6 separate regions of the Homo sapiens genome follow, and all the other regions are linked to region 1. The links are contacts of gene promoters, found by promoter capture Hi-C in blood cells and fetal thymus (Javierre and others, 2016). All regions are on one chromosome and are shown on one strand. The core of a region is centred on a gene start or on the middle of the fragment in contact, and the rest is flanking DNA. Distances in the headings are between cores, read along the strand shown. Region 1 holds the start of ALDH1L2 (aldehyde dehydrogenase 1 family member L2). Region 2 overlaps TXNRD1 (thioredoxin reductase 1). Region 3 overlaps TXNRD1 (thioredoxin reductase 1). Region 4 has its middle 67 kb from the start of EID3. Region 5 overlaps LOC124903003 (a long non-coding RNA gene). Region 6 has its middle 33 kb from the start of CHST11.

Region 1 (4,479 bases), core at 577-3,076:
TGCCTCCTGGGTTGACGCCATTCTCCTGCCTCAGCCTCCCAAGTAGCTGGGACTACAGGCGCCCGCCACACGCCCGGCTAATTTTTTGTATTTTTAGTAGAGACAGGGTTTCACCGTGTTAGCTAGGATGGTCTCGATCTCCTGACCTCGTGATCCGCCCACCTCGGCCTCCCAAAGTGCTGGGATTACAGGCGTGAGCCACCGCGCCCAACCGCAATTCTCCAAGTTTTAATGATGGTTCTTTTTTGTCTCCTTACTCTCTTAAACACATTCATCCGTTTCAACAAGTTTTTTTTTAACAAGTTATTTTTTATTTTATTATTATTTTTTTAAAGCTCTGGTTAGTGCTAGATACTGTAAATCCTGATTAATCAGACATGGACTTAGCTTGCAAGGAGCTTCCAACAGAGACGTTAATAGGTATACAAATACCAGTAGCAGATTGAGACAGCCATAACAGATGCATAGACAAAGATTATTTCCTGTTAAGAGGAGTGAACAATTATTTATGGGGAATAAGGAGACTAAGAGAGAAAAGAATCAGAAAAAAGCGCCTCCAGGAGGCAGCATGTAAGCGGTACCTTTCAGAAAAGAAACGGTCGTGCCAAGATAATTACAAGTGACAGATGACAAGCTTTTCTGGGAAACATTGTCCAAGAAGGAATAGGCAAGAACTGCAGTCAAGCAGAATTACATATGCAAAAGAGCAGTGAGAAATAAGAGAAAATGGCAAATTGCAGACGGCCCTGAATGCTGGGCTAAGAAGTCTGGCTTGAGATAAACGTCCAGCTAAAGCAGGTCTGAGCGTTTTTTCCAGAGAGGTGAGGGAGAAGGGCACGTATCTATTAGGTTGATGCAAAAGTAATTGCGGGTTTGCCATTATTTTCAGTGGCAAAAACCACAATTACTTTTGCACCAATTTATTTATTTATTTTTAAGACAGAGTCTCGCTCTGTTGTCCAGGCTGAAGTGCAGTGGCATGATCTCAGCTCCACTGCAACCTCCGCCTCCCCGGCTCAAGTGATCCTCGTGCTTCAGCCTCCCGAGTAGCTGGGACTGCAGGCATGCGACATCACGCCCGGCTAATTATTTTATTATTTTATTATTTTTTATTTTTAGTAGAGACGGGGTTTCACCATGGTGGCCAGGCTGGTCTCGAACTCCTGAGCTCAGGCCATCTTCCCTCCTCGGCCTCCCAAAGTGCTGGGATTACAGGCGGGAGCCACCGCGCCCGGCCTACCGTCCTACGAGGTAGGCATCAGGATCCCTCCACAGCGAAGGCGCCCCCACTACCTATCTGTCTACAGGCGTGCCTTTTACGGGCTGTGCTATGGACAGCACTTGGGATGTCAGATTGACCACTAATAAGGTAGATCCGTATACACTGCTGCGGGGCTGAGTAACTGGTAGAGGGTCCCACAGTTAGAAAGCACCTGGACCTTGGCTGGAATTGGCGGAAAGTCCAGGCAGCGGAGAGGCGCGGTCCCTGGGACTGGGTGCGCTCTTGGCACCAGGGTCAGGGCCCACAGGCTCCAGGAAGCCCACGCGCTCCGCCGGGTCGCACCAGGTTGGCTGTCCGAACGCAGCCAGCTGGCGGGGCGGGGCCTTCCAGCTGGGGGCGGGGTCTTGACAGCTAGGGGGCGGGGCCTTGCAGCTGGTAGGGTGGGGCGGGCCGCGGGCTGTGGGCTTTGGGAGGGGTGCGGACTAGCAGAGGCCGAGAGCGGCGAGCCGCGAGCCAGGCAGTCCGGGGCATCCAGACTGCAGGCCGCGCCCAGGCCGCGCCCAGGCTGCGCCGCCCGCCTGCCTCCCGCGCTGCCGCGTCGCCAGTGCTAGCGCTCCTCTCCAGCATGCTGCGGCGGGGCAGCCAGGCGCTCCGGCGCTTCTCCACTGGCCGGGTGAGTCCGGCCCGGGCGAGCGTCCCGGCTGTCACCCTGTCCTGGTTTCCAGACTCCGGGGCGGGAGGGCCGGGGCGGTGGGGCTGGGGATGAGCAGCGATGCTTAGACTTTGCTAAACACCAAGACAGCGTTTAAAACAAACAAACAAACAAACAAAAACAGAGAGACCTCAGAGGAGGGCTTGGGGAGGGTCCCGGATGGGAACTGGCACGCAGGCCATTGTCTTCTGCCGGGAGGGGGCTGAGGATGCAGTTTTTGGACGTGTCAAGTCTGGCTGGGATGGCAAGGTGGGAACAGTCACTTGGTAAGGAGGACAGAGTCTGCTTCCTTTCCTTTTTCACTTCAATCATGAGATCCCTGGTCAAGAGCTGGAGCCATATGGAACCGAGACTGTCTCCTGGAGGAGGGGAGTATCAAGTCAATAGGGTCCTCGTTGGCGGCCTGGGAGGTGTAAGCGCTCGAGACTGGCACGCAGGGCCGGTTCAGATAATGGCACTCAAAGCTGATGGCTGCAAGCTCAGTATTCCTGAGCTGAGCTGCAGATGGCAAAATTTCTAGAATTGCCAGGCGCTGCAGAGGCAGCCACGCTGGAACACTATTCTACTGTAGCACAAGAACCGAGCTCTGGCCCAGCCCCGCGCCTTGGAATTGCATCAGCTCCTCCAGAAATGGAACCGAGAGAGGACACGTTGCACTGCGGTGCTGCCTTCAGCACCCAGGGGGCCTCGGGACTGTTTAGGGAAGAGAGAGAGAGAAAAAAAAAAAATAAAAACTGTCTTATGTATCGTATCTTTTATAGGAAGTACATAAAAGAATTTGCTTATCGATTCTTTTTCTCGGCCATGCCAAAGCCATATGTACATATGTATATATTCAGATGTAAAAAACTTGGAGGCAGAGAGAAGTCTTGAGTAGCACCAAAAACTGGCCCAAACTTGCATCAAAGGAAAAGCTTTCTGTATCCCAGACAACCCCAAATAATAAGAATTCGTTTTACTCTTTGCAACCAGTTCTAGTTACTTTGAGGTATAGTCACCTTTTATAAAACGAGGGGTGGGGGTGGGGAAGACCTGCTCTGCTAGGACTTTGGCCTGCTCTCCTGGACCCCTCATTAGCTTCCCCCACCACGTGGCACATGGGATCCCAGATGGATAGCACAGAAAGCAACGGGCTGTGCCCAATGCCTGAGCCTGTTTTGTTGGCCTCCTCTGTCAACACCTTTCACTGACTTGTCTTTTTTGGTGACCAGAAGGAAGTCTTGCAGAATGAAAAGATTTTGATAGTGCGGTTTGCATAAGATTTCAGTAATAAAAGGTAAACATCTCAGGTGGCAAATGGCATAAACAAAACTATGGATGTGGGGAAGAACTGGCGTGATCAGGGTCTAACTGTACGCAGGGGTGCATATGGAAAAGCAGTGATACTCATGGCTGGGAAGAAGACAGTTTCCTCAGTGGTCGAAAGGAAGCTACTGAGTGGTGAATGAAAAATGTGGGATGTTTTATCCTGTAGAAAATGTTCTGGACTGTGTTTTATAAGAATTATTCAAAATCAAACAGATACATGGCTGGTGGAAATATAAAATGGTACAGCCACTTTGGAAAACTGTTTGGCAGTTTTATATGTAGTTAAACATAAACCTATCATATGACCCCGGAATCACACTCCTAGGTATTTACTCAAAAGAAATGAAACCTTATTTGCCCGCATAGAAACCTGTTTATTGATGTTTCTAGAGGTTTTATTCATAATTGCCAAAAACTGGAAATAAATTGTCCTCAGCTGGTGACAGGATAAACAAGCTGTGGTATATCCATCCATACAATGGAATTCTACTCAGTTGGGGGAAAAAGGAATGAACTACTGATGCATACAACATGGATGGAACTCAAATATGTATGCTAAGTGTAAGAATCAGACTCATAATGCTACATATTTTATGATTTCATTTATCTGACATTTTGGAAGAGTAAAACTATAGGGACAGAAAAAAGATCAGTGATGTCTGGAGCTGGAGATAGGAGGAAGGATTGATTATAAATAGGCATAAAGGAATTTGGGCGGTAATGGAACTGTTCTACATCTTGATTATGGTAGTGGTTACGTGACTGTGTGTTTGTTAAAACTCACAGCACAGTACACTGAAGAGGGTGCATTTTACCCATGCAAATTATCTTTTAATTTTTATTGTTTTGAGACAGAGTCTCACTTTGTCACTCAGGCTGGAACGCAGTGGCACAATCTTGACTCACTGCTACCTCTGCCTCCGGGGTTCAAGCAATTCTCCTGCCTCAGCCTTTTGAGTAGCTGGGATTACAGACATGCACCACCATGCCCAGCTAATTTTTGTATTTTTAGTAGAGACGAGGTTTTGCCATGTTGGCCAGGCTGGTCTTGAACTCCTGGCCTCAAGTGATCCTCCTGCCTCGGCCTCCTAAAGTGTTGGGATTACAGGCATGAGCCACTGTGCCCGGCCTAATTATCCCTTTATCTTTAAAATTTAAAAATCAAACAATGCTTTTAAGTTTAGTATTAAAGCAGAATGAAGGATGAATAAAAATAAAGCTTTCAGAACCTAGCAAA
Region 2 (4,479 bases), core at 746-3,245, 830 kb after region 1:
CACTTCCCACCTTGAATTAATGCAAATGACATTACTCATCCCATAGAGAAATACACATTCATCAGACCAAGTACAAATATAAAAACAAAGTTTCTCTATTCTGATTTACTCATATCCCAGTTGTTAAATGAGATGATTAAATAAAAACTAAAGAAAATAACCTGGGAAAATTCTACTTCAAGGTAATTTAAATAAATAAATAAATGTGAACAGCTAAGTATATGAGTTGTACACCCTCAGAAGAAATTCACCACTTTACCAGGAAAAGCACCTAATCATCTTTCATGGCCAAAGACATCGAAAATTAATTTCCAAATTAACTGGCACCAATCTGAAAACAATCTGAAATCAACAAGGTAAAACCAGGGGATGTTTATCTAGAAGACTTGACATACCCAGGGATTGTTTGGATAATGATATTAAATAAATTTGCCAGGATGACTATATGTTGTTGTTGTTGTTGAGACAGTTTCACTTTTGTTGCCCAGGCTGGAGTGCAATGGTGCGATCTTGGCTCACTGCAACCTCTGCCTCCCGGGTTCAAGCAATTCTCCTGCCTCAGCCTCCCTAGTAGCTGGGATTACAGGCATGCATCACCAAGCCCGGCTAATTTTTGTATTTTTAGTAGAGACGGGGTTTCTCCATGTTGGTCAGGCTGGTCTCCTGACCTCAGGTGATCCGCCCGCCTCGGCCTCCCAAAGTGCTGGGAGTACAGGTGTGAGTCACTGCGCTCGGGCAACTGTATGTTTAAATAAGCATGCAAATAACTAACCAACAAATGTTATAGGAAAAGTTCTTCATTCCCAGGCTAGTTTTAATTAAGTAAAACTGGGGGAAATATAGGCAAGGCTTTACATTTTCAGGGATAGGCAGGAGAGCTGGGAAATGAGGGAGTTAGTAGATTTCAGAGATAACAGTAAGAATAAGAACATTCTGGGGCATAATAGGGACTAAAAAAAAGAAAAGAAAAAAAGAACAATGATAGGTCAAAGAGATCTGGGATTGCAAGGAGCATACTGACTATCTACCACTAGTAGCAATCCTGACCGCTAGCCCAACTTTTCATTCCAGAACTACAGCAGGGTTAAAATTGGAATTTTCTGTTTATTTATTTATTTCTTAATTTTTATTTTTTTTATTTATTTATTTAGATAGAGTCTTGCTCTGTCACCCAGGCTGTAGCTTAGAGGCACGATCTTGGCTCACTGCCCCCTCAGCTTCCTGAGTTTTAAGTGATTCTCATGCCTGTGCCTCCTGAGTAGCTGGGATTACAGGCATTCACCACCATGCCTGGCTAATTTTTGTAGTTTTAGAAGAGACAGGGTTTCACCATGTTGCCTAGGCTGGTCTTGAACTCCTGGCCTCAAGTGATCTGCCTGTCTCAGCCTCCCAAAGTGCTGGGATTACAGGTGTGAGCCACTGCGCCCATATGTATTTATTTTAGAGACAGGGTCTCACTCTGTCACCAAGGCTGGCGTGCAGTGGTATAATCATAGCTCACTGTAACCTTTAACTCCTGGGCTCAAGTGATCCTCTCACCTCAGCCTCCTGAGAAGCTAGGACTACAGGCACATGCAAACCATGCTGATATATATATATATATATATATTTTTTTTTTTTTTTCCATAGACATAGAGTCTTGTTATGCTGCCCAGACTGGTCTCGAACTCCTGGCTTCAGGTGAACCTCTTGCCTTGGCCTCCCAAAGCATTGAGATTACAGGCATAAGCCACTGTGCCCAGCTCCCGATTCTTTAATAATGTTTGAAAATATGAGTAGAGTGACCGAATGCCTGGCACATAGTTGGCACTCAAATGGTAGCTATTTACCCACTGATAGGATTAATTGTACTTAGCATTATGTCAGGTATTTGTTGATTACCATTTAATCTAGCCTCAGTACTGACAGAAGGAAGATTAACCACCCAAGGTTTTAAGTCCTGATAGGAAAAGGAAAAATGCAAGTAGTTCTTTTATTTAACAAACACTGATATAGTGTTTACTATGTCTCAGGTATGTTCTATGGCTTTTATAAATATTAATTAATTTAATCCTCATAACAAACTTACGATATAGATACTATTATCATCCACATTTTACAGATGGGGAAACTGTGGCACCACAGGTAAATAACTAAAGTCACATGGCTGATAAATCACAGAGCCAAGATCCACACTCTGACTTTAGAGTCCAGGCTCTTAACCTGTTTGGTAACGAAAAAGACTAGACAAGCACGTAATTTCAGAACTAAGAAAACCCTCAGGCTGGGCGCAGTGGCTCACGCCTATAATCCCAGCACTTTTGGAGGCTGGGGTGGGAGGATCACGACAAGCTCAGGAGTTCGAGACCAGCCTGGCCACATAGTGAAACCCCATCTCTACTAAAAATACAAAAATTAGCCAGGCATGGTGGTGTGCACCTGTAGTCCCAGCTACTTGGGAGGCTGAGGCAGGAGAATCACTTGAACCAGGAGGCGGAGGTTGCAGCGAGCCGAGATCACACCACTGCACTCCAGCCTGGGCAACAGAGCGAGACTCTGTCTCAAAAACAAAAACAAAAAAACCCTCAATAAGCAACTAGTTCAAGCCCTTCATTTTAAAGATTAAAAAAAAGGAAGTGGCAGGCGGTGCGGGGGAGGGGCAGTAGGTCCCAAAAGCAGATAAGAATTGCAGAGCTACATAATTAAGCCCCTAGAGGCCAAGAATTACATAGCAGATTTCTAATGCCCAGCCCTCTTCTAAATTCTCTAGCACTTGCTGCCTGTCCAATCATGTAGAATTTAGCATGGGTTATCTGAGATCATTTTTCTTCTTAAGCCTATGTTCTGCCCTCAGTTGAGCTAAACCCCCAGGGATGGGACTGTGTCTTCTGCCTCTTTGCAATCCTACTCCCAATATGATGTCCTACATGAAAGGCATCACTATCATATTGATAGGGATGAAGCCTAAGGTGGCATCGATGCAGAATGTGTTCAGGAGAGACACAAGGATGAAAGGGTCTCCGTACCTCAGTGTTTTTGCCGCCCACCTTCCTTTTTCTTTACTTGGGAAAAAAGTGCACGTGTGCACAGACACACACACATGCAGAACGAGAGAGAGAAACAGAGAGAGAGAGTCCAAAAAGCCCATAAGCCCATTTATTTCTATGTAAGGCTTCCAGAATAAAAAGACTTCTGAATTCAAACTCCTTGAGATCTGGAAAGTAAGTCATGGGGCAGACAAGTTGAGAGAAAATTAAACTTAATAATAAAATCGGCCGGGCGCGGTGGCTCACGCCTGTAATCCCAGCACTTTGGGAGGCCGAGGCAGGTGGATCACAAGGTCAGGAGATCGAGGCCATCTTGGCTAACACAGTGAAAACCCGTCTGTACTAAAAATACAAAAAATTAGCGGGGTGTGGTGGCGGGCACCTGTAGTCCCAGCTACTCAGGAGGCTGAGGCAGGAAAATGGCATGAACCCGGGAGACGGAGCTTGCAGTGAGCTGAGATCGCGCCACTGCACTCCAGCCTTGGCAACAGAGCGAGACTCCGTCTCAAAAAAAAAAAAAAAAAAAAAAAAAAAAAATATATATATATATATATATATATATATAAAAAATAATAAATTAACCTCTCAGTGAACCTGGACAGATGGCCAGTTATATTTACCTAAGACTCCATTGTGTAGGCCTAGAGCTAAACTTCAGTGACATTTAAATGCCCTCAGCCTTCCTATGAAGCACCAGACAGATCAGGTTTGCCTTTCAATTCTCACCTTCGTTAATGGTTAAGTCCACCCTGGTTTATTCAGGGTGGACTAAACTAATCCTCCCCTTGGCTGTAACCACTGACCTTTTCTCTCTGATAATCTAAGATTAAGAACCAAGTAGGAAACAGTTTATTCTTTGTGAAGTTATTTTCCCCATAATAAACCAAAGCATGAAGAGATATTTATCAAAATTTGGTAGTACCCTAAGTAACCATTCCTTATGAAATATTCCCTACAGACATATCTGAAAGGGCCGCAAATCAACCGGTTTGGTAACTCCCCCACCCTAACCTTCCCTGACCTCGACTACCTGAATATGTCTCATACTTCCCAAAAGCTCAGAAAGATTATTCAAACAATATTTTGTTATCAAATCCACATTTTACAATTACTCTGAAGCAAGTTACACCTACATATACTTTTCCTTTTTTTTTTTTTTTTTTTGAGATGGAGTCTGACTCTGTCCCCCAAGCTGGAGTGCAGTGGCACTATCTCGGCTCACTGCAACCTCTGCCTCCTGGGTTCAAGTGATTCTCCTGTCTCAGCCTCCCGAGTAGCTGCGACTACAGGCACATGACACCACGTTGGGCTAATTTTTGTATTTTTAGTAGAGATGGGGTTTCATCATGTTGGCCAGGATGGTCTTGATCTCTTGACCTTGTGATCCACTCACCTTGGCCTCCCAAAGTGCTGGGATTACAGGTGTGAGCCACCGCGCCCAGCCTACATACAC
Region 3 (4,479 bases), core at 988-3,487, 730 kb after region 1:
ATAAGTGTTCCAGTTGCTCCATGTCTTTGACAACACTGGATACTGGCACTCTTAAATCTGCCATACAATGGGTGCATGAGGGCTCTCCACAGAAACAATGGATTTTATACATATGTGTGTACATAAAATATGGAAAGAGATTTTTAGGAGGGATTGGCTCATGTGATTATGGAGCCTGAAAAGTCCCACAGTCCCATCTGCAGGCTGGAGGCCCAGGAGAGTGAGTCATGGAGTTTCAGTCCAAACCTGAAGGCCTGAGACCAGGGAACCAAGGGTGCAAGTCCTAATCTGAGTCTAAAGTCCCAAGAACCAGAGCAGCAAGGTCTGAGGGCAGGAGAAGATGGATCTCCAAGCTCAAGGGCAAAGAGTAAATTCACCTTTCTGCCTTTTGTTTGATTTGGGCCTCAAGGATTAGACAATGCCTACCCACATTGGTGAGGGTGACCCTCTTTACTGTCTCCTGATTCGAATCAGTGTTAATCTCTTTCAGAAACACCCTCACAGAAACATCCAGGAATATTTTACCAGCTCTCTGGGCATCCCTTAGCCCAGTCAAGTTGACACATAAAATTAACCATCCAGGCTAGGACAGTGGCTCATGCCTGTAATCCTAGCACTTTGGGAAGCCAAGGCAGGGTGATCACTTGAGCCCAGGAGTTCAAGACCAGCCTGGGCAATAGAGCAAAAAACCCAATCTCCACAAAAACTTAAAAAATTAGCTGGGCATGGTGGTGCATGCCTGTAGTCCCAGCTACTTGGGAGGCTGAGGTAGGAGGATGGCTTGAGCCCAGAAGGTCAGAGGCTGCAGCGAGCTGTGTTCGCACCACTGCACTCCAGCCTGGGAAACAGAACAAGACCCTGTCTCAAAGAAAAAAAAAAAGTAGCCACTCACAGTGGGTATAAAATGGTATCTCACTTCAGCTTGATTTGCATTTCACTGCAATTTAATTTGCATTCCCCCTCACTAGTGAGGCTGACTTTTTTTCTGTTTAGGCCCTTTCTACTTTCATTAACATTTAAATCAATGGCTCCTGACATAACAGGAAGAAATTAAAAGGCTTCCTATATGGCCATCTCTGATAGTTATGGCTCTACCTGTCAATCCAATTACACCAATGTTCTAAGTGCTTCTGTAGTGCCAGACCTTGTGCTAGAAGCTGTGGGGCACACAGAGGTAAAGAACCCTCATTATCTAGTGGTGGTGACAGAAACACACACTACACTCCATGCAGAGTAATTCAAAGAGCTCTAGAGACAATACAGAGTACCCTGGGAGTAGAGGTAGAGAACCAGCTGGAAGTTACGCAGAGCAGGTGACCTTTGAGGGAGGCTAGTAGTTATATGGGGACATAGAGCAGGTGTAGCCAGAACAGGCAAGGGAAAGCGCAGGCTAGAGCTGCAGATAACAGGTTCAGGGTCTGGCAGGGGACTGTGGGTCTAGTTACAGGCCTTGGGAAAACCTCAAAGGCTTGAGACAGGGAAGTTCAGGCAATAAGAGCCTGGCTCTAGTGGGAAGTAAACTGGCGGTGGAAAGTCCAGTTAGGAAAGTGTTAGAACATCTCAAGACAAGGTATTTATTAAGCGTGTAGACAGCATTGCTTGACGGCATGTGAAAATGTGAAGTCCCAGGAATTGATGCAGCAGACCTAAAAGCTTCCATTTGTCAGAGATGAATGGGAGGCTGCACTGCGAGGTAACTAAGAGGTAGCGCCTTTGAGGTCACAGACCCAACTCTGGCCTCAAAAACGTGATGCATTAACTGGCTGTGTAATCCTAAGAAAGTGACTTACACTTCTGAGCCTGTTTCTCCATCTATAAATGGGTACAAAAGCACCTTCTCTAATAGGATTGTTGTAAGGATCACATCAGCCAGGGTGTGTCAAGCACAGTGCCTGCACGTGTTGCAGTAAACACTCATTTAGCTGTTGTTATTACTAGCACCCTGCAACTACTTACCACAAAAACAAGTACAAACTGGGAAGGTTTTTGGTAAAGATTACATAAAAGAGGAGTTTCTGCTTAAAAAGTGATACCTAAGAAGATTAAGTGCATGTGAATGCATAATCTGAACATGGTAATCAACATTTCTGGAAACATTTATTGACCATCTATGTGCCTGATACTGCCAGAAGATGGGAAATGGCAATGAACTGATTAGTTCTTCTATACTTAAATCAGCATAGCATCATTGGAGCCTACTCAGCAGCTAGCTTTTCAACACAATATCAGAGATCTACTCAATACTCTTGCAAAGACTCCCAAGACCATCATTCAGTAAGAAGGCACACGTGGATATTATTAATGCCTTTTAATTTTAATGTTTCACATTGTTTTGTTTTTTTTCAGAAGATTTGTAACAAAAATACATGGAACTTAGTATATGTTTCAATAAAATGGGTAAATACAGAATCTGAACAAGACAAGTCTATAAGATATAATCCTTCTTGTGGGGATAGAACATTCCACTCCACTAAGAAAAGAGAATCACAACATGATTAGGCCTGATTATCTCATACCGCCTACTGTTCTAATTTCAGAGACTGGTGGACTTGGAGAAAAAAACAAATTAAAAATAAATAAATAAAACTGAATATGGTCAACTGCCTCAATTGCTCTCTCCTTTTCCCTTTTCCCATTTCTTTACACAGCCAAATGAGATGAGGACGTGAGGCAGAGCCCTGTGGGGGACGGTCAGGGGCTCTGCTGCCTAAATGCCAGGCAGATGCATGGGTTCCCTGAGGTGGCCCAGAAATGTATTTTGACCACTCAGTGCTGCAACTGAGAAATACAGGTAGAGTAGCAGGAATGAAAAAGAAGCTTCAAGAACTGCTGGCAGGAGGCCTGATGTCCACAAGCACGTGTTCAAAACTCAACCTACACAGTTAGAAAAGACAGCTGAGATAGAATCCTCAGCCAGTACATTGACAAACACATAACTGAGGCATTAATACCTCTTTATAATAATGCAAGTTGAAATGCTAACAAAGCATAAACACTTCTGCAAAAATTCCACAAGGCACAGTTGTTCATTCAACAGAAAAAGTCAAAACCACTTGGTTTTTAAATGAAAATCCTTCACATCCACCTGTGTTCAAAATATTAATAATAACTTATGATATTAATAACTTCCTTTAAAAAGCAATTACCACAAAACAGCTAAATCATAAGCATGAAAAGACTTATTTTCCTACTAATGTAGTCTTAGAAAGAAATAGATACCCAATGTCATTATTTTTTTTAGCATAAAGCTAAAGCTACCAGAAAAACTTTTAAACAAGTTACGTGTTTTCCATTGCAAATGATCTCAGCTTGCTTAGACCAGCACACAATAAACTAAAGACAGAAAGATATGTACTGTTTCTCCCCCATTTCTGGTGTATGTCTGCCTCCATGACAAATAATGGTGAGAATCATACTATACTACCAAATGCCAGGCAATGGCTGGCCAAGTAGCCATTTCCCTTCCTAAACAGACCTTAAAATAATAATCATCCATCATGTAGCACACAGGGGCAAATTTGGCTAGAGTTGATCGCAGATGTACTTGTTTTGGGAATATATGAGAGAAGAAACTGCTGAGCAGGTCAGTAAAGAACAGTCCATTTCAGCTGCAGGACAGTTCTCTTTCCCGGGACAAGCCTACATAGCCTCCAAGGGAGCCAAACTATCCCTTCCATGCAACAAGACACCTTGCATGGATACTCTAGCCATGACTTGCTTTTGGACAAAAATCAACTGCTAACGTTTTTCATCTCTAATATCATTAACACCATGGAGAAAAAAGAAAAAAATTCAACCCTAGAAAACTTGACAACGAGAATAAGAAAATCCACAAGGAAAGGTCATGCTAAAACTGATTTGACAGTTGTTCCATCACCGCCTACCACATGGGCTTGAGACTGGTGACTTCATGGATGCATCCCTTCGATGCCCTGCCAAATGTCAGCTTCAAGTCTGTCAGTGACCCCAGTGTGATGCTGCCTGCCTTCTATTCACCAACTCCTATCCAAGAGATCCAAGGGGGCCTTGGGCGGTGGTAAGCACAGGACACGCAGGTGCCAAGAGCCCAAGAACCCTCTAGAAAACTTCGCCTTGGATTTGGGCACGGAAACGAGCCAGTGGTTTGCAGTCTTGGCAACAGCATCCACACTGGGGCTTAACCTCAGCAGCCAGCCTGGAGGATGCTTGCCCCAGAGCGCTTGGTCACAGACAATGTTGTGAATACCTGCAGGGGAAGAGAAAGCACAACATCTTCAGATGCCTGAGCAAATGAGGTAACAGGGAACAGTTCAGATAATGCCATATGCATTAAAACCATCTTAGGCGACTACCAAAATGAATAAAACAGAGAAGTAGTATGATCAAGGATATCTTCTATTTCTCCAGAGAATAAAAGGGGGAAGACATTTTAAAACCAAGATGAAAGAGAAAAAAAATTTAGGTTATATCTACTGAAGAATTTTGTTAGCATGAGGATGA
Region 4 (4,479 bases), core at 501-3,000, 710 kb after region 1:
GCCTTTCTGCTTTGTCGTGTATACAGCACCTGGTAAGCCTTCCCCACCCCCTTCCCTAGTCTCTTTTGCCTTCTTTCCTGAAAATGCATGAATTGCTTTCAAAACCACTTCTTGCATTAACAAAGAGGAAATAAAGAGGTTCTCAAGATGTCTCTGAGACAAGGGGTCCCCAGCCTCTGGGCTGTGGACCGGTACTCATCCGCTCTGTGGCCTGTTAGGAACTGGGCCCCACAGCAGGAAGTGGGGCGAGTCACTGCGGGCAAGTGAGCGAAGCTTCATCTGTATTTACAGCCGCCCCTTATCCCTGGCATCATCGTCTGAGCCCCGCCTCCTGTCAGATCAGTGGTGGCATTAGATTCTCATGGGACCATGAACCTTATCGTGAACTGGGCATGCGAGGGATCTAAGTTGTGTACTGCTTATGAGAATCCAACTAATGTCTGATGATCTGAGGTGGAACAGTTTCATCCCAAAACCATCCTGACCCCCCTCACCCCCCGACCGTGGAAAAAATCGTCCTCCATGAAACCGGTCCCTGATGCCAAAAAGGACTGCTGTCTTAGACCACACAAGACGTTCATAGTCATCGTCAGGAAAAAAGTAGCATCCCTCAACGGCCAGACCTTCCATCTGCTGCTGGTTCACACGTAAGAATCACCAACACTAACACAGCACGTTCTAGAGGCCAGCCCCCGTCCTCGATACCTTACTTACCCAGAGTTAACTTATTTACTAATTAACTTTCCTTACTTCCCTGAGTTAACTTATTTTGTCCTGACAACCACACAAGGGAGGTGCTGCTATTGCCACCCCCATTTTCCAGCTGAGGATGCTGAGGCACAGAGAGGTTAAACAATATGCCTGAGGTTACACAGTAAGTGATTCATCCAGGATGTGAACCCAGGCTAGCTGGTGTTAGAAGCTGCGGGTGTAGCCACATTCCTCTAATTCCTTGTGACAAAGGAAAACAAAGAAGCCCATCCGTTTAGGGAACCAGGATGCTGTCGTGGTTGGCAGTGGTGGTATTTCCGTCAGTCCTTTTGGCATAAATACCTCTAGATTATGTCACAAAACAGCCCCTGGCAACTGTCCCTTATTTCCTAAAAAGGGGTGGCAAGGTGGCAGGTGGGGCTGGCTTACCGAAGCCTTATTCTCCTTCTCAACTAGTAGACTCGCCTTATTCTCAAACCCAAGTTCTTGACCCTTCTTAGCCCCTTTATTGACTCTCCCTGATTCTCAAGTGTCTCCCTGCATAAAACATGCCATTTCCATAATGTGGCCTTTCTTACTTCTGGAGACGTCTCTTCCTCGCAAATATTGACAGAGGCTTTCCCTGCCGCTGAAGTAACACTCGCCCCTACCCAGGCGGCATTCTCTGCTCCCCTGTATACCTTGAAGTGTACCTACAGGGTTGTTCACTGATTTTATTTGCAGGAAGAACTGACAGGCCCCTCGAACTTGGAGCAAACAATGAACAGAACGAGGATTGAAAGAGGTGAGATTTTTAAAGTAAATGCTTTAAAAAGCAAAATGTGTGGTGGCTCATGCCTGTAATCCCAGCACTTTGGGAGGCTGAAGCAGGAGGATCACCTGAGCCCAGGAGTTCAAGACCAGCCTGGGCAATGTGGTGAAACCCTCTCTCTACAAAAAAATACAAAAATTAGCCAGTGTGGTGGTGTGTGCCTGCAGCCCCAGCTACTTAGGAGGCCGAGGTGGGAGGATCACTTGAGCTGAGGAGGCTGAGTCTGCAGTGAGCCTAGATTGCACCACTGCATTTGAGCCTGGATGGCAGAGTGAGATCCTGTCTCAATAAATAAATAAACAAATAAATAAATAAATAAAGGAAATACTTAGACTGCTTAATGATGATTTACTTCAAATCCAAACCTTCCAAATAGGAAAAAAAAAAGAAAAGAAAAGAAAAAGAAAAAAGAAAAAGCAGGCTGCTTTAGGACGATTCACTTTGCTTTCCCTTTTGGCAGCTCTGATATTCTGCATGATGGCTAAATGATAATGAGTCCTTATGACAACTGCTGGGGAGAGACGGACCCTGGATGGGGTGTGGGGCACAGATATGAAACACACATCCATTTTGCCTACCTTCCTTCACTGCCTAGTGGAGTCTCTGCTTTATATGCTGAGATAGACACTCTTCATGTGCTCTATAGATTAGAAAAGCTAAAACTCGGCCAGGCGCAGTGGCTCACGCCTGTAATCCCAGCACTTTGGGAGGCCAAGGCAGGCGGATCACGAGGTCAGGAGATCAAGACCATCCTGGCTAACATGGTGAAACCCCGTCTCTACTAAAAACACAAAAAATTAGCTGGGTGAGGTGGCACACGCCTGTAGTCCCAGCTATTCGGGAGGCTGAGGCAGGGGAATGGCATGAACCCAGGAGGCGGAGCTTGCAGTGAGCTGAGATCACGCCACTGCACTCCAGCTTGGGCAACAGAGTGAGACTCTGTCTCAAAAAAAAAGAAAAGAAAAGCTAAAACTCACTTTGTCAGCTTCCCTTGCAGCTAGGGATGGCCCAGGACAGAGATCTGGCCAATGAGTTAAAAGCAAAAGTGTGTCAGGCAACACCAGGATGGCTGTGTAAAGGGTAGAGAGGCAGTCCTATCTTTCACCCCCTCTTCTTACTGCCTTACTAAATACAGACTTGATGGCTGGAACTACAGCAGCCATTTTGTGACCATGAGGGAAAGAATGAGAAAATTGCAAAGAAGCAGATCCAAAACCTCTGACATTACTGAGATGCTTCTCCAATGTCCACACCCAACTGGCTGCGACTCCTTATGTCAGAAAAATGAACATATATTTGTTTAAGCCCCTGTTAGTGGGTGTTTGTTACTTAAAGCCAGGAACGTGCCTACTTAGGTGTTATTATCTCCATTATTCAGATGAAGAAAGTGAGACCCAAGCCAATGAGTGTCTTGTTGAAGGTCCCATTGTTAACCAACAAAACGTAACTGAAGTTTTTCCATGCTTTGTCCTGGCCTCTCCCCATTATTTCTCAGCTGCCTCCACCAGCCCAGCAGAAATTCCATGCAGCAGAAGAATCTATTGACCATGAATGACTGGTACTTCATTCAAGCAGTTAAGGAGTTTCCCTGGGTCAGTGGTCCAAGTGTCTGTGTGCAGTTGGCTCCCTCAATGTTCATATGTTACTCAGTTGGGCCTTTGTCATTGAAAGCGAAGAGGACATTGTCTTGGCTGTCAGAAGCTTTGGGACTGTTCTTTAAGTCTGGCTTAAGTAATAATCAGTGACCTTTCCCTTCTCAGCTTAGAGGTATGGTTGAGATCAGTCATTGGCACCCCCAGGTCCTGACCACCATCTTACTATACAGTGGCAGGGAAAAGGACAACTGGACATTTACTGTGTCCAAAAGGGATGTAATGACCTTGCCCTCCTTCTGCCTGTGTAAATGCTTGTGTGGACTCATCCCTTACAGGCCGACCCAGCAAGACTTCTCCATTAACTCCCTTCTGCATGCTGGGCAGGGTGGTTTTCTGGATTCTTATCCCCAGTTCCCCAGTTCCCAACCTCCAGCCCTGGGCTATGGTGATTTTCCTGTTAAAATATTCTTAAGTCCTCTGTACCGTATGTTGCCTCACTCATCACAATTGTAATGAAATCATGATTTATGCACCATTGTTTGTTTAAGGTTTGTTTCTCCTATTAGGCTGGAAGCCCAGGTGGGGCTTGGAAGTAGAAGACCTTCAGTGATGGTCTTTGGATAAATAAATGCAGGGATAACTGGGTGGTTTCAGTGGCTCTTTCTTCTTCCTGCTAATCCCCCAATCTCCGCATCTCACTCCAGAAGCTGGCATGTTCTCCCGGCATCTGGCATTTTTTCCTCCTTTTCTGACTTAGCTTTTGTTTTGGACCTTGAGATATGCATAGAGGTAAATAATAATAATAACAATTAGCATTTTCAAGTTCTTAGTATGGCCAAGCACTGTGCTAAGTGCTTTGTAAGTATGATCTCATCTAATCTACATACCCACTCTCTAAAGCAGATGCTACTATTATTTTCATTTTATGGAGGATTCGGGGCACAGTGAAGCTCAGTCTTTTTTTTCAAGGTCACACAGCTAGTAAGTGGCAGATCCAGGATTCAACCTGGACTCCGGGCTGCATGCTCCCCTAAATGCTCTCACTGTCCAACAGACGTGGCCCTGATCATTTTGGATCGTCCAGCCAGGTTGAGGAGAAAGTTGTTACTCAAATAATCCCACTGTATTAGGCAGGGTTCCCCAGAGAAACAGGAGATAGATGATAGATGACAGGTAAATAGATAGATAGATGATGATAGATAGATAGACAGATAGGCAGATAGATGATAGATAGATAGATATATAGATGATAGATAGGAGATTTACTATGGGAATTGGCTCAGATGGTTATGGAAGCTGAGACGTCCCACCATCTTCCACCTGCCAGCTGGAGAGCCAGGAAAGCTGGTGGTGTAATTCAGG
Region 5 (4,479 bases), core at 1,019-3,518, 680 kb after region 1:
GGGCAGCTTGGCTAGTTGGTCATCTCAGTGCTGATTGTGAAAATAAGTTTGAAAAGATAATCTTATCCAACATAGAAAAAAACAAAAAGAGTGGCCGGGCGCGGTGGCTCACGCCTGTAATCCCAGTACTTTGGGAGGCCGAGGTGGGCAGATCACGAGGTCAGGAGACCAAGACCATCCTGGATAACACGGTGAAACCCCGTCTCTACTAAAAATACAAAAAAATAGCCGGGCATGGTGGCAGGCGCCTGTAGTCCCAGCTACTTGGGAGGCTGAAGCAGGAGAATGGTGTGAACCCGGGAGGCAGAGTTTGCAGTGAGCCGAGATCGCGCCACTGCACTCCAGCCTGGGCGACAGAGCAAGACTCTGTCTCAAAAAAAAAAAAAGAAAAAAACAAAAAGAGCAAAAAAGACTAGCGCATCTGTCTGTGGGCCAGCCAAGGGCGGCTGCAGGTCAGGAGCTCTAATTAAGCAAGGTGCAGTGGGTGGAGGGGAACTTGGTGTCCACTCAGCCACAGTGCTGTTTTCATGTCTAACCTTGATTGAACCAAGCTTCTCAGAAAGCCCAACCCTAATGGAAAATAAATTCTGCTGAATTCGAATGGAGCCATTAACGTCTCCCTTCTCAGGTCTTGAAACATTTATTTGCTTTAAAATACACGCACTCATCTCAGTTCTATTAGGAGTCAGAGCCAGCTTTTGCCTGGGAGCAGATTTATCTCTGCCCACACCCTCCCACCCCCTTGCTGCTCTCCTCCCCAGGCAGGGCTGAGCCGCAGCGGAGAAGGGACAGGGGCAGAGGCCAGAGCATCCCAGGGGCTTCCCTCCTCATCAGCTCATGGGAGTTGCCTTAGTACCACCCTGCGGTGCTGAGTCCTGATGGGCCCCAAGCCCCTGTCCCTCCAGGAGCTTCCTTTATGATCTGAACAAGTCCTACTCTCAATGATTGGAGAAAAAGTTTTTTGTTTTTTTTTTAAATTTGAGACAAGGTCTCACTCTGTTGTCTAGGCTGGAGTCCAGTGGCCTGATCGTGACCTCCTTGGCTCAAGTCATCCTCCCACCTCAGCCTCCCAAGTGACTGGGACTACAGGCATAAGCCACCATGTCTGGCTAATTTTTTAATTTTTTATAGAGACAGGGTCTTGCTCTATTGCCCAGGCTGGTCTTGAACTCCTAGGCTCAAGCAATCCTCCCAGTTCAGCCTTCCAAGATGCTGGGATTACAGATATGAGCCACCTGCCTGGCCCTAGAGAAAGATTCATAATCCAGTGTCAGGAATTTGTTCCAAATGCTGGCTTCATCATTTGAGGAAGCCTGTCTTCCTCCATGGGTCTTAGTTTCTTCATCCATTTGGAAGGACAGGCTGGATCTGCAGTTCCCAGGGGGGTACTGTCCCTATGAGGTGTTTTGGAGATCTTCCAGAGCATCTCTGATTATCACAATGATTAGAGACACCATTGGCTTTCATGGGCATTGGCAGGCAATGCCTGGGACAGTCTTGCACAGCAAAGAACTGCTTCATGTCCCATGTGACTTTCAAAAACCCCACTGCACATTCCCATACCTGTGTGACTTTGTGAAGTCACTTTGCTTCTTCATACTTTTACTTTCCTCTTTTTTTTTTGAGATGGAGTTTCGCTCTCGTTGCCCAGGCTGGAGTGCAATGGCACGAACTCGGCTCACTGCTACCTCTGCCTCCTGAGTTCGAGCGATTTTCCTGCCTCAGCCTCCCAAGTAGCTGGGATTACAGGCATGTGCCACCACACCCGGCTAATTTTGTATTTTTAGTAGAGATGGGGTTTCTCCATGTTGGTTAGGCTGGTCTCGAACTCCCGACCTCAGGTAATCCGCCCGCCTCGGCCTCCCAAAGTGCTGGGATTACAGGTGTGACCCACCGTGCCCAGACTACTTTCCTCTTCTTTAGCTAAGAAGTATTGTTCTCAAGGCTCAGGCCAGGTTGGGCAGTGTAGGAGTCTATGAGAGGAATTCAGATAAGTATGTTCATTCATAACAAATATTTCTTGAGCACCAACCAAGCACTGGGTTCTGGGTTGGATGCTGGGGATACAGCACTCAGTCAGACACATGTAGTTCTTGTCTGCACAGGGCTCATAGCCCAGTGTACTCAAATCTGTGATTCTGGAAAGGATGTTATGCCCCTTTAATAATTAACACTCAGTCTCTATTTATGTGGCCCCATTAGGTGCTGGGCATGGAGCTACTACTAGAGATTCAGAGATGAAGGGCAGTAGGCAAGTAAACAGCAAACCAGAGGTGGTGGAATCCATCCTGTAATGCAGGTTGCATATTACAAGATGAGAGCTACTATTTGTCACATACTTACTATGCGCCGGACCAGGAGAGGGACTTTTGTTGTTGCTGTAGAGACAAGGTCTTACTCTATCATCCAGGCTGGAGTGCAGTGGCACAATCACAGATCACTGCAGCCTCCACCTTCCGGGCTCAAGCAGTCCTCCCACCTCAGCCTCCTGGGTAGCTGGGACTACAGGTGCACATCACCATGCCTGGCTAATTTTTTGTACTTTTTGTAGAGATGGGGTGTTGCCACGTTGCCAAGGCTTGTCTCAAACTCCTGGGCTCAATCGATCCACCTGCCTTGGCCCCCTAGGCCAGCTCACGAGAGGGACTTCACATACACGATGTCATTTGAGCCTCACAATAACCACATGGAGTAAGCCAGCCTGTGTGTCACTGTCACAATTTTTGCCATTTCCACCTGCTACCTTTTGTTATTTACTTGACATTTTTCTTTAACCAACTTGCATAATTAAACCAATCCTTGTCCTAAGTGATAATATCTCTGAAATCATAAGGCTGATGAGGTTTTTGTGTGTGTGTATTTAATACTTTGTTGTGGTCTGAATGTGTGTGACCCCTCAAATTCATGTGTCAAAACCCTAAACCTCAACGGGATGGTATTAGGAGGTAGGGCCTTTAGGAGTTGATTAGGTCAGGAGGGTGGAGCCCTCATGAATAGAATTGGTGTCCTTATAAAACGAACCCCAGACACACATACGTGATGGAATACTATACCATATTATACCATACTATACCAATACTATACCATACCATAAAAAAGAATGAGTTCATGTCCTTTGCAGAGACATGGATGAAGCTGGAAGCCATCCTTCTCAGCAAACTAACACAGCAACAGAAAACCAAATACCACATGTTCTCACTCATAAGTGGGAGTTGAAAAATGAGAACACATGGGCACAGGGAGGGGAACATCACACACCAGGTCCTGTTGGGGGAAGGGGGGCAAGCAGAGGGAGAGCATTAGGACACATACCTAATGCATGTAGGGCTTAAAACCTAGATGATGGGTTGATAGATGCAGCAAACCACCATGGCACATGTATTCCTATGCAACAAACCTGCACGCTCTGCACATGTATCCCAGAATGTAAAGTAAAATAAAAATAAATAAATAAATAAATAAACAAAATTTTTTCAAAAAAGAGACCCCAGAGAGCTCTCTAGCCATCTTTCCATCATGTGAGGATGCAACAGGAAGTTGACAGTCTACAATCTGGGAGAGGGCCCTCACCAGAACCCAACCCTGCTGGCACCCTGATTTTGGACTTCCAGCCTCCAGGACTGTGAGAAATAAATGTTGCTTAAGCCACCCAGTCTATGGTTCTTTGTTAATAAAGAAATACCTATAAAACAAATATGTAATACATCAAGAAAGCATACCTATAAAACAAATGTGTAAGAAGTGAACATTTTAAACTGTTTGGGTATACTGAAATCATCTTGTGTATCAGACACTGGGAAATGCTGGGTAGATGGGCCTGGGTAAGGAATGCTAGCTGCTATAAAAGCAACATGCCCAATGTTTATTTTTCAATCATGTCACGTCCAGTGTAGCTGATTAGGGGGTGGAGGTTCTCCACCAAGTCACTCAGGGACTCAGGTTCCTTCCATCTAAAAGCTCATCCTCCTGGAGCCTTAGAAGCTTCCCCCTGGATTCTCAGCTCCCAGCTGACAGGTGTAGGAAGAGAATTCATCACATGCTATTGGTCAGAGTCCATCAATATGACCCCTCCCTAACAGTGGGGACACTGGCATGTGTGGTTTGTCCATGGGCCCTGGAGGAAAGAAAAACAAGTTTTGCTGAAGATCTAGCATGGTCTCTGCCACACACAGATAAGAATTTCTACTTTGGAAACACTAAGGCAAGAATTTCCATTTTACAAGGGAGGAAATAGAGGCTTTAAAAAGCGAAGTGCTGCTGAGTGTGGTAACTCATGCCTGTAATCCCAGCACTTTGGGAGGCCGAGGCGAGAGGATCACCTGAGGTCAGGAGTTTGAGAACAGCCTGGCCAACATGGTGAAACCCCGTCTCTACTGAAAATACAAAAATTAGCCTGGCATGGTGGCGGGCGCCTGTAATCCCAGCTACTCAGGAGGCTGAGGCATGAGAATCACTTGAGCCCAGCAGGCCGAGGTTGCA
Region 6 (4,479 bases), core at 1,460-3,959, 660 kb after region 1:
TGGCCTAAAACTAAGAAATGCATTCTCTCACAGTCCTGGAGGCTGTAAGTCCGAAATCAAGGTTGTCAGCAGAGTTGATTCCTTCTGGAAGATTCTGGGAGAATCTATTCCATGCCTCTCCCCTGGCTTCTGGGGGCTCCTGGCAAGCTTTGGCCTTCCTTGGCTCATAGCTACATCCCTCCAATCTTCTCTCATCTTGGCATGGCTTCTTCTCCATGAATGTCTCTCTGCTATCTCTTAAAGACACTAGTCATTGAATCTGAGGCTCACCCTGATCCAGAATGGCCCCGTCTTAACTAATCACATCTACAAAGACCCTATTTCCAAATAAGGTCACATTCTGAGGCCCAGGTTGATGTGAATTTGGGGGGATACTATAATCCAAAACAATGGTCTAGACCTGCATTCACCCAGGCCTGGGTGGGTGAATTGGCCTAATGCAGAGTGAAGGCAGGCACGTATGGATTAGTAAGCAGAGTGGGCACATATGGATTAGTAAGCTGTTGGGTCAGACGTAGGCCACCCATCTGCTATCGCTTCATCAATAATAAAGGTCAGAAGGGAGTTCTGACAAATCTCTGCCTTCTGCAGGCAGCAAAACACCTTGTGCTCCAGTGAGAAGTGAGGAAGAACAGTAGCTTGCTTTGAGTGCCCTTTAAGACCCTGTGGTCCTCCAGGTGCCCCCCTGGCCATCCATCTGGGAGCAATCAACATTCTCCAGCTTCCCTGGGTAGTTCTGTGCTGTTCAATTATGCAGCTACCAACCCCGGCATGTGAGCAGAATTTCTAACCAAAACCCCTACCCTGCAACAGAGAGGCGTATCCAAGGAGACTGGCAGGTAAATGCGAACACGATAAATCAGGATCTTGATGCTGCATTCTTATTGCCTTTTTCCTCTGAAGGGACTTCTGTGCTGTCCTCTCAGCAGACTTGTTACAGATGTCATCAAACCTTGGGTGGCACCTGAATGAGAATGTCACCCCATGTAGTTCCAGAACTGTTAGGATACAATCCTCTTATTCTGGAAACCCAATTCCAGCTCCCTGCTGAAGATCTGGCTTGGTTGGGAGGGAGGGAGGAATCAATACTACCGCAGAAGGATCTCTCGACTCTTCCTTTCTGTGCAGCTTCAAAAAGACTATTTTAAAGATATTTGCATATGCCTTCATTTTCAGGTCACTGAAAAGATTCTACCTAACCAAGCATAAGAACTTAGTCCACTTATAAGCCCAAAAGACAAAGATGGTGGCAATATTTTTTTACAATGGTTACTGTCAGAAAATTGGAGTTGAGTGTCTGGAGTTGAGCAGAGGAAATTCACATTTGAACTAACAGTAAAAGAAATAATAAATATTCTTGGCCCTCAGCTCATATTGTAGGCATTGGATCATCCCTTCTCTGACTCTAACATCAAGTTTACAAGGTTTTTCCTTCTTTTAATTCCCCACCTGGCCGTGGTACTGAAACTTTTAGTCTGGTGCAGGGAGTGTCTTCACCACCATATGTCACTGCTTTGTCATTGATAGTTTCTTCTACAGAACTTGTGTAAATGAAGAAGCAATTGGGAACTTCCAGTGTGTGTTCTGACCCTGCAAGTGGGCCACTAGTGGTATCCTGAGCCCTGAAAACCTGTAACCTGACAATATTGCTAGTTCTGGTGGAATATGTTATTGTATACATGTTGCTTAAATTAAAGCCACCCTCACTGGTATCTCATCAAAACCAGTCAGCCTACTGTGCATTCTAGAGGATTTCTTCTACAGAAAAAATGCAAGTGCATTGTCTCAGGGATAGGACCCATCCTCAATACAATTAACAGTCTCATTGGGAAAAATTTCAAAATGCAGGTGAACACATCGACAAGCCCTTGAACTGCATGGCAGCGGGAGGAGGTTGGCTCTGAAGTCTAAGCAAAGATGTGCAACATTTAAATTACCTGAGAAAATCCTTTAAATGCTCATCAGGTACACAGTCTTCCTCCTGCATCTCTACAAAGGGCTAGCATGATTAGTTTTCCCTCCAATACTGGGGCAGATTTCTGTTTCTTTGGTTGTCCCCAAAGATGAAACAGCAGGCTTGTACTTGGAAGATATTTCATATAATGATGTATCTTTTAGGCACTTTAAGTGCAGAGGCAGGATGCTCACACCACACAAGTTGCATGGAAAGTAAGACTGGGGGAACAGTTGAATCTCTTCTCTCCCTCTGGGATGTAGACTCTGGCTTTTTACCTGTCCTCCATAAACATGTGGAACCACTGCTCATTTTACCCTGCACACACTGTGGTTTTCCACTTGCTAACTTGATCAAGGATGCCTTTCTCCACAGTCTCTCTCCTATTCAGCTCATGTGTCACCTCCTCCACGAAGCCTCTCGAATCAGCCTCCCTTGCAAAGCTGGGTTATATGACCCTCTGTATCCCACAGGATCCCGTTCGTCTCTCTATCATTATGCACTATTTCATTAGAGAGTTTCTGTTTCTGCCTCATTACACGGTGAGCTCCTGAGGACTGTAGCTGCGTCTCACTCAACTCAACATTGCCACATATATTGGCGTCTAGAAAGTGCTGGGTAAATGTTGAGTAAGTAAACAAATGGTTGGCTTTAAAGGATGGCTAGGGTTGAAATAGACTGATAGGGTATTCTGGGCAGGAACAAAACTATGTGCCTGGCACAGAGTAAATTTTCAAAAAAAGGAAACTGCTACTATTGTTTGTAGTGCTTTCTGGAGAAATGGAAAGACTGATAAGGCCCCAAAAGCACTTCTTGAGTGGAAAAATCAGATCCAGCATGGTTTTGTTTTTTTTTTTTTTTTTTAGAAAGATCTGCTAACTGTCATGATAGTGACATGGGGCCAGCTCCCTCAGTGAGGTTACTGAAGTCATTGAAGACTCACAGACTGGTGTATGTCAACAGAAGGTGGGCAGAACCAACTTGTAGGGACTCAGTTGCCTTTCCCTAAGCCAGTGTACAAACAGAAATGCTGATTGATTTTCCTATTCACCACAGGAATCATAGCTCCTTTTTGCAAAGTAGACCCATTCGTTTCTCCCAGGCAGGTCTTCAAAGGAGGCTCTAAATTTGAGAGACATTCGCTCAGTCATCAAATGATTGAAGTGGCAGGGATCTGTGGTTCTTGAGAAACATTCCTATTCTAAGGCCAGGTGCAGTGACTCATGCCTGTAAATCCCAGCACTTTGGGAGGCTGAGGTGAGAGGATTACTTGACCCCAGGAGTTCAAGACCAGCCTGGGCAACACGGTGAGACCCTCACCTCCACAAAAAAAAAATTAAACAATTAGCCATGTGTTTGTGGTGCACACTTACTATAATCCCAGCTACTTGGGAGGCTGAGGTGGGAGGATCGCTTGAGCCCAGAAGTTCAACCAGCCTGGGCAATGTAGTGAAACCTCATCTCTACAAATTAAAAAAGTAATAAGGTAGCTTGAGGTAGTCAGAAAGAACCTCTCCTCATCTGAGAGGGTCAACATTTTTTTGTGTGTTTTCTCTGTCTCTGCTTTCTGTGAATATCTATGCCCCTTACACCCCTTCTGGACTCTTCCTTTAGGCATATTAATGAGTTAGTCTTGTCTTAATTGTGCCTAGGAGCCATTTCCAGGTTAAAAGAAAAAAAGACCATGTCTTTCAGGAGTTTACCCTTGTAGGAAACACAGACTTGTAAAAATAATTTCAAAATAAGGGAAGTGCTGCAGGAAAGCTGTCTTTGGAACCAGAAAGAGGGGGAAAAGGGAAAAAGAGTAAAATCAAAAGAGCTGGGTGTGACTAATACTAACATAAACCAAAAATAAAATTCTAAGTCCACAACTGGCCAATGGACCCCACCCTCTTGGCCAAGGGCATTCCAAAGTTAACCTGAAAAGCTAGTTCAAGCCATGATGTGAAGTGAGGTTCAGACATGCCTCATTATACCCTCCTCCCATTGGAATTTAGGCACAGCTGACTAGCATTAACATAAAAAGAGAGACCTTAATACAGATAGACTCTTTTACGTCTGATCAGAAATATTCTCTTCTGTTGATTTTATCTGCATAATGGGAAACTTGGTCACCACAACCCCTTATCTTAACCCAGACATTCCCTTCCACTGATTCTAGGTCTTTAGATAATAACTCTTTCAACCAATTGCCAACTAGAAAATTCTTGAATCTGTCTATGACCTGGAAGCCCACTCCCCCCAGAGTTGCCCCCCTTTTCCAGACTGATCTTATGCGTATTGATTGCTTGATGTCTTACGTCTCTGTAAAATGCATAAAACCAAGCTGTAGACTGACCACCTTGGACACATGTTCTCAAGATCCCCTGGGACTGTGTGATGAGCCACTGGTCAGTCATATTTGGCTCAGAATAAATCTCTTCAAATATTTTACAGAGTTTGACTTTTTTCATCAACACTGACTAGGCGGACTTGGGGGCCTTGGAAACCTGAAGCCTAATTAGGCAGATAAGAGTTCAAAGGAG

What was found. The method cuts DNA at HindIII sites, captures the fragments that hold promoters and counts their contacts. A CHiCAGO score of 5 or more calls a contact.
Region 2: a contact is called between a fragment that was not itself captured here and the fragment with the promoter of ALDH1L2 in region 1, in 3 of 17 cell types (naive B cells, monocytes and total B cells). The highest score is 5.7, in naive B cells.
Region 3: a fragment that was not itself captured here is called in contact with the fragment with the promoter of ALDH1L2 in region 1 in 15 of 17 cell types (total B cells, total CD8 T cells, endothelial precursors and 12 more); the score reaches 13.9 in total B cells.
Region 4: a contact is called between a fragment that was not itself captured here and the fragment with the promoter of ALDH1L2 in region 1, in 16 of 17 cell types (activated CD4 T cells, total CD4 T cells, naive B cells and 13 more). The highest score is 9.9, in activated CD4 T cells.
Region 5: a fragment that was not itself captured here is called in contact with the fragment with the promoter of ALDH1L2 in region 1 in 8 of 17 cell types (non-activated CD4 T cells, naive B cells, naive CD8 T cells and 5 more); the score reaches 6.2 in non-activated CD4 T cells.
Region 6: a fragment that was not itself captured here is called in contact with the fragment with the promoter of ALDH1L2 in region 1 in 7 of 17 cell types (endothelial precursors, total B cells, activated CD4 T cells and 4 more); the score reaches 7.7 in endothelial precursors.

What each region holds. Positions count from the first base shown.
Region 1 is chr12:105,081,805-105,086,283 of GRCh38, reverse strand. It overlaps ALDH1L2 (aldehyde dehydrogenase 1 family member L2), which reads left to right and starts at 1,826. Exons shown (of 23, transcript NM_001034173.4): 1 at 1,826-1,895. The coding sequence starts at 1,848. RefSeq lists a silencer at 1,519-1,948 and enhancers at 2,449-2,688, 2,183-2,983. The HindIII fragment of the contact is 2,214 bases long and covers 637-2,850 here.
Region 2 is chr12:104,251,775-104,256,253 of GRCh38, reverse strand. The region is part of intron 2 of TXNRD1 (thioredoxin reductase 1); the gene reads right to left. Among named protein-coding and RNA genes, the nearest start is that of TXNRD1-AS1, 27 kb to the left of the region's middle. The HindIII fragment of the contact is 8,597 bases long and covers 1-4,479 here.
Region 3 is chr12:104,348,099-104,352,577 of GRCh38, reverse strand. It overlaps TXNRD1 (thioredoxin reductase 1), which reads right to left. Exons shown (of 17, transcript NM_001093771.3): 17 at 2,271-4,225. The coding sequence ends at 4,157. Among named protein-coding and RNA genes, the nearest start is that of EID3, 47 kb to the right of the region's middle. The HindIII fragment of the contact is 1,164 bases long and covers 1,656-2,819 here.
Region 4 is chr12:104,368,042-104,372,520 of GRCh38, reverse strand. No RefSeq gene overlaps it. Among named protein-coding and RNA genes, the nearest start is that of EID3, 67 kb to the right of the region's middle. RefSeq lists enhancers at 1-482, 483-1,239. The HindIII fragment of the contact is 2,950 bases long and covers 276-3,225 here.
Region 5 is chr12:104,401,256-104,405,734 of GRCh38, reverse strand. LOC124903003 (a long non-coding RNA gene) reads right to left here. Exons shown (of 2, transcript XR_007063434.1): 2 at 3,842-4,114. Among named protein-coding and RNA genes, the nearest start is that of CHST11, 53 kb to the left of the region's middle. The HindIII fragment of the contact is 3,430 bases long and covers 554-3,983 here.
Region 6 is chr12:104,422,125-104,426,603 of GRCh38, reverse strand. No RefSeq gene overlaps it. Among named protein-coding and RNA genes, the nearest start is that of CHST11, 33 kb to the left of the region's middle. The HindIII fragment of the contact is 5,119 bases long and covers 150-4,479 here.